Linked DNA regions of Homo sapiens: region 1 is linked to region 2. Evidence: promoter capture Hi-C in 16 types of primary human blood cells and fetal thymus (Javierre and others, 2016). All regions are on one chromosome and are shown on one strand. The core of a region is centred on a gene start or on the middle of the fragment in contact, and the rest is flanking DNA. Distances in the headings are between cores, read along the strand shown.

Region 1 (4,042 bases), core at 437-2,936, 1.0 Mb before region 2:
CCACTTCAACTAGCGTACAAATAAATACCTTACCCCCGTTCACGTTTCATAAATTAGGAAAAGACATCCAGCTTACATTCCCCCAAATTAGCTGTATCCGACTCTGCAATTCATTTACCCTTCCAAGTTGGTGACACGAAATTCTATTCTCCAAACAAACCGTAATGATCAATCCAACGTCCCTTTCTACTCCGTTTTAAAAGACTGAAGAATTAATGCCAGAGGAGAGCTATCAACACTGCCGGAGATTACAGATTAAGCGATATCAGAGCCCCATACCACCACTCTTTTACTATCCCTCATTCTGGGCGTGATCCCTCTTCACTAAAATCCTAGCCCAAATGTATTTTGTCCCCTACCCTTGATTCTTTGAAAATCTGTTTCCTAAAATAGTAAACGTAACGTTTTAAAGACCTTCTAACGTCACCCTCCTCATTGCAGTCCTAAGCGGCACACCAGCGCAGCTCAGCCCGCTCCTGAAGACTTCGAAGCAGGAAACCCAGCAATCTTCCAAGTGGCACCTTCCCTGCTGGCCTAGATGAACCTAGAAAGCAAGCAACTTCAATGAATGCAAACTAAGCTTTCCCGAGGAGAAACGTCAAAGCAGCTACAATCAGTCTCTGATTACACAAACATACCTAGGGGCAGGTTGGAGTAAGGAGGGCTTTAGGGGTGGGGGTTGCCTACCCAGAGGTGGCTTAAACCAGTTCTCCTATTGTTACTGAGTTTAGGAAAGCTAGCTTTTGTTTCGTGGTGGATTTTGGGGATCAAACCCGAGATGCCAGCTAAACATCCCTGAAGTCTTTGTAAGAGAACCTAACCCAAAGTTAGGACTTCAGTTCCTTTAAATTAAGATACTGAGTTATGCATAATTAACGATTCCAGTAGAGAAACAATGCAGAATTATTTTGAAATATTGTAAAAGGAGGGTCGACATGTGCGTCTATCTGCCCAGTTTTGCGAGAGCTAAATGCCACTCACGGGCCCCCTCTACCAAACCGGGAAGAGTGGCGACAGCGGGACTCCTTAGGTCATGTCTTGGGACCCAAAGGTTTCGGACTCCCTCCAACCATCCTTTTGGAGGAAGGAGGCTTACAGCTCTAACTCCCTCCCCAGCAAACAAACCAGAGAGAACTGAGGCCCTATCTTTCCTGGGCCCATCTGGAGACACACGCCTAGAAAGCAAAGCTCTTTCCCGCCTACCTAGTAGGTAGCGGTTGACGAGTGATTGTGCACAGTGTCCAGGAACTCCCAGGCTAAGGGACGTCCAGCTCTCGAGGTTTACAGGCAAGGGGGACCTGAAGTGGAGGGAGGTGCATTGTTTCCACATGGCGTTTAGGTGGTAACAGCCCAAAATATAGCTTTCATTGAGAGAGAAGAGCTACCCAGGCCCAGCTCTGCGCGCGGCGAGGGCCCGCTGGGATTGGGCGGACGCGCGTCACGTGACCGGGCGCCGTGCCCTGGAGCCCCGCCCCTCCCTGGCGCTCACTCGGCGGTGCTGCAGCAGCCGGGATTAGTCCCACTTTCACTTTCTGCACTGGGGCTTCACACCTGAGTGATATTGTTTTGTTTTCTTTTGTTTTTTGTTTTGTTTGATTTTGAGATGGCCAGTACAAAAAAGAGGCAGTCCAAAGAAAAAGAGCTCCATGCGTTTCTGGAAGGGGGTGATGAGCCGGGGAGGTCGGACGGGGGCTGTTCAGGGTCCGCGCTCCCGGGAGGACGAGGACCCGGAAAGCAGGTGTTTTCCCCATTGCAAGGGCAACACTGAGCTCGCGCGTCCACAAAACGTTCTGCGAAATTGTAAGGGCCTCCAGCATCACAACCAAAAGTAGAAAGTAGTAGGGGCTTCACCCTCCGAGCGCTGACGTGGTGATTTGTTTCTGAAGAAGGACTTGCTCCAGGTAGTTTATTAGGGTAGCGAGAGCGAAGGGCCACCAAAGCTGGCTTGTCATCCAACCTAGGAAACGGCACTCGCTGAAAAAACAAACTCACGATGGCTTCCGTCTCACCTCTAACCTGTGGGGGACTGGACTGGACTCAGTTCAGTACGAGTGCAGGGAGAGGGCTGCGCGCCAGCTCTGGATGAGCCCAGCCAGCGGTCCTATGTCTGTACCTGTCCTTATCGCTTATCACTAACCGCCCTTATCAGTCATTATCGCGGCTGGTCACTGACTAAAACATTCTTCCATAGTCCTAAATAAGTTCACCTATAGAAAGAAACCATTCCAGATCACTAACATGAGCTTGGCCCATTCATTTGTTCTTACATTTATATAACAGTGTTATTTTACATGTTGCACATTTTCCAGTGCCTGACTTACTAGGTTCTGAAGCACAGCAGCAACCTGTGAACCAGTCAGGCTCTTTTGCCTACGGTGACCTTCAAGTGTCCATCTGTAACAAGTCAGGGCAAGTTGCAATAAATAATTGGATCTTTGAAAGGAAAAAAAATGGTTTGTTTTCTCCTCTCTAAAAAGATTTCTCCAACACCTGAAAACTTTTAGCAAGTTGCTCAAACTTTAAGACTTCTGGGATTTTTTGTTTTTTTTTTTTGTTGTTGTTGTTTATTTGTTATTTGTACACTTCAGAGGGTAAGAAGAAACCAGGTAAAGTGTTGACAGTTGCCTAGCACAATGACTGGTACAAAGTAAATGCTCGATAAATTATTATTGTTAAAGTTAAACAAGTTATGCTTCCTCCTGTGTGTAGTTTTAAGTGACAATATAGTATTGTCCATTCTTCCATGCTTTATTTTTATATACAGGTTTGATTAGGGAGAAGGGAAAGCTTATAAAGCAATTTGCTTCAATCTTTGGTCGTGATAGTAACTTCCACTAACTAATTACACATCATTTTGAAAGTATTTCCTCAAATTTGTTTTGAATATATAATATGGCCTTTGAATTTCCTTAACTTCTCCCTTATACTTTTACAAAATGAAAGGGTATGGTCTTATCCCACTAGCTATTTCACAAGCAAACATGGTAACTCTTTTGGGGGAAGAGATTATTATTTTCTCTGGGAAGTTAGCTGAAAATCTACCAAAAAGTGCAGTCCAGAATAAGAATTAATTAAATAACCAAAAAGATCATTTTTGTTTTGCTATCTGGAAAAAAATGACATAGAATAGATATGTAAAATGTTAATTTTAAAATATAGCTGTTTTTTAATTCCTGCTTTTGGAAGCCAATTTGGATGGTTGAAATGAAAGTTGTTTTCCCTTTAAAATTAATATAATTATCACTAGGTCACCTAGAAAGAATATCTCTGGTCTAAACTTCTCTTCTGTGCTCCAAATTCCCTCTTTCACAAATGACAAAGAAACCGCTTGGATATATATGGAGCTAAACTCATCACCTCTCCTACCATTCTCCCTTTGGACATTCTAGATCTTACTTAGTTCAACCTCCCAGTCATCCATACTACAAACCTGGAAGCCATGCTCGAATCTTCTCTTTTTCTGCCCTCCACTTTAAGTCAGTTATCAAGTCCTGCCTGATTTAAACTCCTAATTGTGCCTCAGATATGCCCCTTCCCTTCCTTTCTAATTCCTGCTGCTCCAGTCTAGGCCTTCCTTGTCTTGCTCCCTGGCTCCCTTGCTGCAGCAGCCTCTTCACTGTAAGCCTCTGCCATTATCATTTCCTTCCAGTCCTTTGTTGAGTGACTTATCTGAAAAGCAGATCTGGACATGCCACTCACCTTTATAGGCTTCCTATTACTTACCAGATAAAAATCTAAGCTCTTTACCACCATTCTAAGGCTCTGTACCTCTCTCTGGCTTTGCCTTTCTCTCCTTCCTGCCCTGACTTCACATTCTAGCCACACTTCATTCATTCATTCTACACCACTGTGTGCTAGCTACTGTCCTAGCCACTTGGGATGTCTCAGGGAAAAAAAAGCTAAGATCTTTGCCCTTGTGGAGCTTATGTTATGGGAAGGATCACATCAGTAAACAATAAACATAAGTAAGCACAATTGATAGGACGAGGGAGGGTAATTCTAGATAGGTTGGTCAGGGTTGGCTTTATTGAAAAGGTGACTT
Region 2 (3,706 bases), core at 1,039-3,538:
AGTATCAAATATATACTTTTCAAGCAAATATACCAAATATTTCACCCATGTATCTGTCAGTCAATCTGTAGTATTAACAGCCTTTCATTCAATTCTTTTTAACTTAGATTATCATGCCAAAATAAACCTCTTTAGTCGTAAACCTCTTTATTTCTAACTACAGAAAATTTATATTTACCTTTTTTTGAGGAAACAACCGGCTTCCATAAAAGTATCTTTTTTACTATAAAGGGATTAAGCAGTAGAGAGGAGTAAAGGCAGAAGTATTAATTCATTATTTCCTGGGTAAAATTTTGAAAATGGGAAGCAATGAAATTCTGTTTGGTATTAAAACATCTTTAAAAATTACAACACAATACGAGCAAAGGTGGAAATTTACCCCAAGTAGCAGACCAGCACATTTTAAACACACAAGCAAGAGCCGCCTCTGGCCACATGTTTTTTTGAGTTCAGTCTCTTAAAGAGACAGTATACGTAGACCAATGACTACACGGAGCACATTTCTAAAATGTTTATCAAGCATCCCTCTATTGCACGCATTTCTTTACAACCACATTAGGCCAACAGTGTTCTATTTTATTTTACTATGAAGTCAAATTATTTTGATCTGAATCTACAAAATGATTACAGGACAGGCAGCGATGAAATAATAAAGGGAGCTACTGTGACTAGAGGTGTCTAAAATAAGGCAATCTATACATTTCTTTCCACAGCAAACTGTTTCGCTTTGTTTTTTCAACCTTAAAATGATCATGTTTCTTCATTTTTCTACCCATTCACCAGATACAGGCGACAAAGTATATTGTATAGGTAATACCGGAAACAACAAGAACACTATTTCGCTGTAGAATGAAGCAGGGGGAAATGCTAATAACGTCAACCTTAATATATATAGTGAAATTTCAAATATTTTCTTTTCTCTTTAGACAGAAAACCCAGGAAAAGGCCCATACACGTACCCTAAACGTTGGACTACCTAGTGATTTCAGGGAAGATTTTGTCTTTCAATATACCGAAGGACATCTTATCGTACGTCTATTGGCATAACTACCGATCAGCTCCTCCACATGGAAAAAGATGAAGAGGGGGACAAAAAAGTTTGGCTTACTTGGTGTACAAATACATCGACTGGAATATCCAAGGGGCTTCCCTCTCGGTTTATCATGGAGATGAATCCAAATCCCATGCGCACATTGAACCACTTACAGTGGCCAGTTCCGCGCAAAACCTGGGATTCCTCCTCTGCCGGCTCCGGCAGCTTCCCGGGCTCTTCTCCACCACCTTTGCTAGCCCCGCCTGAGAAGGAACAGGACAAAAAAGTCAGTCTGTATTCCCATTCAATGTGCATTCAAAGATTAAAAAAAAAAAATTGCCTGCCTGGGGTTGGGGGGGAAGGGTAACAGAAAAAAAAAATTTTTTTTAATGGTTTGATTTCTTTTCTCCACAGAAAATACTTAAAATGAAAAGGGTTAAAAGGAAAGCGGGGGAGGGGGAAGCCACACTGTTCTATCGATCACACCAACTTCCACGTTTCTATACATACGTGTACTTATTCATTTAACTCCATTTTTCAGCCACATTTTACATTACAGCATGCGATACTTTACTTGTATATTGCTGATTTAATACTGATCCCATTGACAAAGAGAAATTTTCAGCGAAACTATTCTCTCCGGCGGGCACGAGGAGGAAAGAGAAATCGTGAAGATGGTTTAGAGCTACTAGTTAAGGCACATGGGGCAGCACTGAATCCAGCGTTATTTGCAATGTGCATTCCCCTCCCCCCCATAACTTTCAATTAAAGTTGGGGTGGAATGGGGGAGGGGGCAGGTGTATAAAAGTTTTCTTGGAATCACTAACTGAAACTGCGCTTAATCACACTCACACAATTCAAACAATAGCCCCCTGAAAGCTTTTCAAGTTGTGAATCAGTGTGGGCGGTACAAAACATTTTTGGAGATCTATAACAATAGGTTTGCAGAAAGCCCCACTGCGTGATGGGGGGTTGGGAGGTAATGCCCAGTATTGGGGTAAAAGGGGAAGGGGGGGACGGTCTAAGAAGGGTGGGAGAGGGGGAGGGGGAGGAGAAAAGAAGAAAGAAATTCACAGTAAAACAATAGAAAAGAAAATTAACCTTCGGCCATGTTGCCCCACGGGCCCTCAGCTCCAAACTCGTGAGATGAAAACTTTCCCTTTGGAACGGAGTGATCTTCTGCATCAATCTAACATCTTGATTTTGTGCGATCACAAATTTAGCTCGCATGGTCTAATGTGCTTTCCTTCTTTTGATTTTTTTCTCTCCTCTCTCCAGTTTCTGGCCCCCTGAGCACACGTGACTTTGTCAATTACATGCTTTCTTGCTACTAATTTCACCTCGTATCCTTAAGGGGCTGGCAAGAGGAAGAGATAACCAATCGCCATTTCATCTATGCTGACATCAAAATAATTTATGAATGAACACGAAAAACTCAAACATGTTATCTTAAAGACAATTTGGAACGCTTCTTTAGGATAAATCAGAATGCTGATTTCGTGCTTCTACTTAAACACAATGGAGGGACCTTGTGAATCATAGATTTAGAAAAAAAGGCAGTCATATATGTGCACACGCGTGCCTTACACACAAGCCTGACTAAAATCATGGGAGGGGGTCGTTTAAATAAAACAACCGATGTTAACGCTTTTTTTCCCCTTAAGAATTCAGCTATTCCATGGCAGTAAACCTGCTTGGAACGCTAATTTCATATTTAATTCAATTCTTAGAGGAAAATATATAATTTATAAAAGATCTAATTAAACCTAATTACATCCCCATGAAACTTTAGATAATGAAAACATACACCTAGGAAAAGGCAGAGGCACATAAATTACCTGATTATGCCCGAAATTTTTTCAAATTTAAAATAAAATCCTACTAGAAAAATCGTTTTCACCTTCATATAGTCAAATTGTGTTTAGGTAAACCATTTTGGAAAATTTTAGAGGGGGTTGGTAAGGAATTGTACTTCACAGGTTTCTCTGCCATCTCTTTCCGGGGGAGGAGATGTGATTAATGACTTCCTAAATAACAGCCCAGTTTTCCAGCCTAACATAGAGTGAACCTCAATCAGTGGCGATTGTTCCCCAAGAGCTGGAGGACATAGGGCAGGAGGGGGAGGGGATCGCCAGGCAGGGGAGGTGAAGAGGAGCCGCCAGGATAGGCGGCAGCAGAGTCAAAGAAAGAGGTGGGAGAGAAAAAAAGCCGGCGCGGGCAGGGGGTGGGGTGGAGAAAGAAGGACAAGTGGGAGAAAAAAGGTAAATTCATATCATATTGACTTGTACCCTGACATTTTAAAAGTCCACTACCAATGGCTAGAAGAGTTGAATAAACGAAAATGTAACAACGGATGAAGCTCCTACTGTCCTTCCTCAACTGACCCCCAGTTTCAAAATGCCTACCCCCTTTACCTTTCAAACTGGTTCAAACGATTGATTACAAGATGCTGGCAACAGTATTTCTGCCCTTATCGAATACTATAATAAATATTATAGATTAACTAAAAAGACTTTATTTCCTTTAAAATATAAAATATCGCTATTTTAAAACCTTAAAATGCACCACCAGACTTGCCTACCCCACCCCCCATTTTCTTAAACAAGCAGTTTACCAAGAAACTAACTGTTCAGATACCACTTCCTTCGACAAAGCTACCGAGTTGACCCTCCC

What was found. The method cuts DNA at HindIII sites, captures the fragments that hold promoters and counts their contacts. A CHiCAGO score of 5 or more calls a contact.
Region 1: a contact is called between a fragment that was not itself captured here and the fragment with the promoter of LIN28B in region 2, in 1 of 17 cell types (fetal thymus). The highest score is 13.6, in fetal thymus.

The regions. Positions count from the first base shown.
Region 1 is chr6:105,990,012-105,994,053 of GRCh38, reverse strand. It overlaps a transcript of PRDM1 not described here. Among named protein-coding and RNA genes, the nearest start is that of PRDM1, 94 kb to the left of the region's middle. RefSeq lists an enhancer at 274-808 and a silencer at 1,339-1,548. The HindIII fragment of the contact is 2,207 bases long and covers 583-2,789 here.
Region 2 is chr6:104,955,689-104,959,394 of GRCh38, reverse strand. It overlaps LIN28B (lin-28 RNA binding posttranscriptional regulator B), which reads right to left and starts at 2,288. Exons shown (of 4, transcript NM_001004317.4): 1 at 2,135-2,288; 2 at 1,109-1,296. The coding sequence starts at 2,144. RefSeq lists enhancers at 1,400-2,337, 2,338-3,275. The HindIII fragment of the contact is 2,336 bases long and covers 1,915-3,706 here.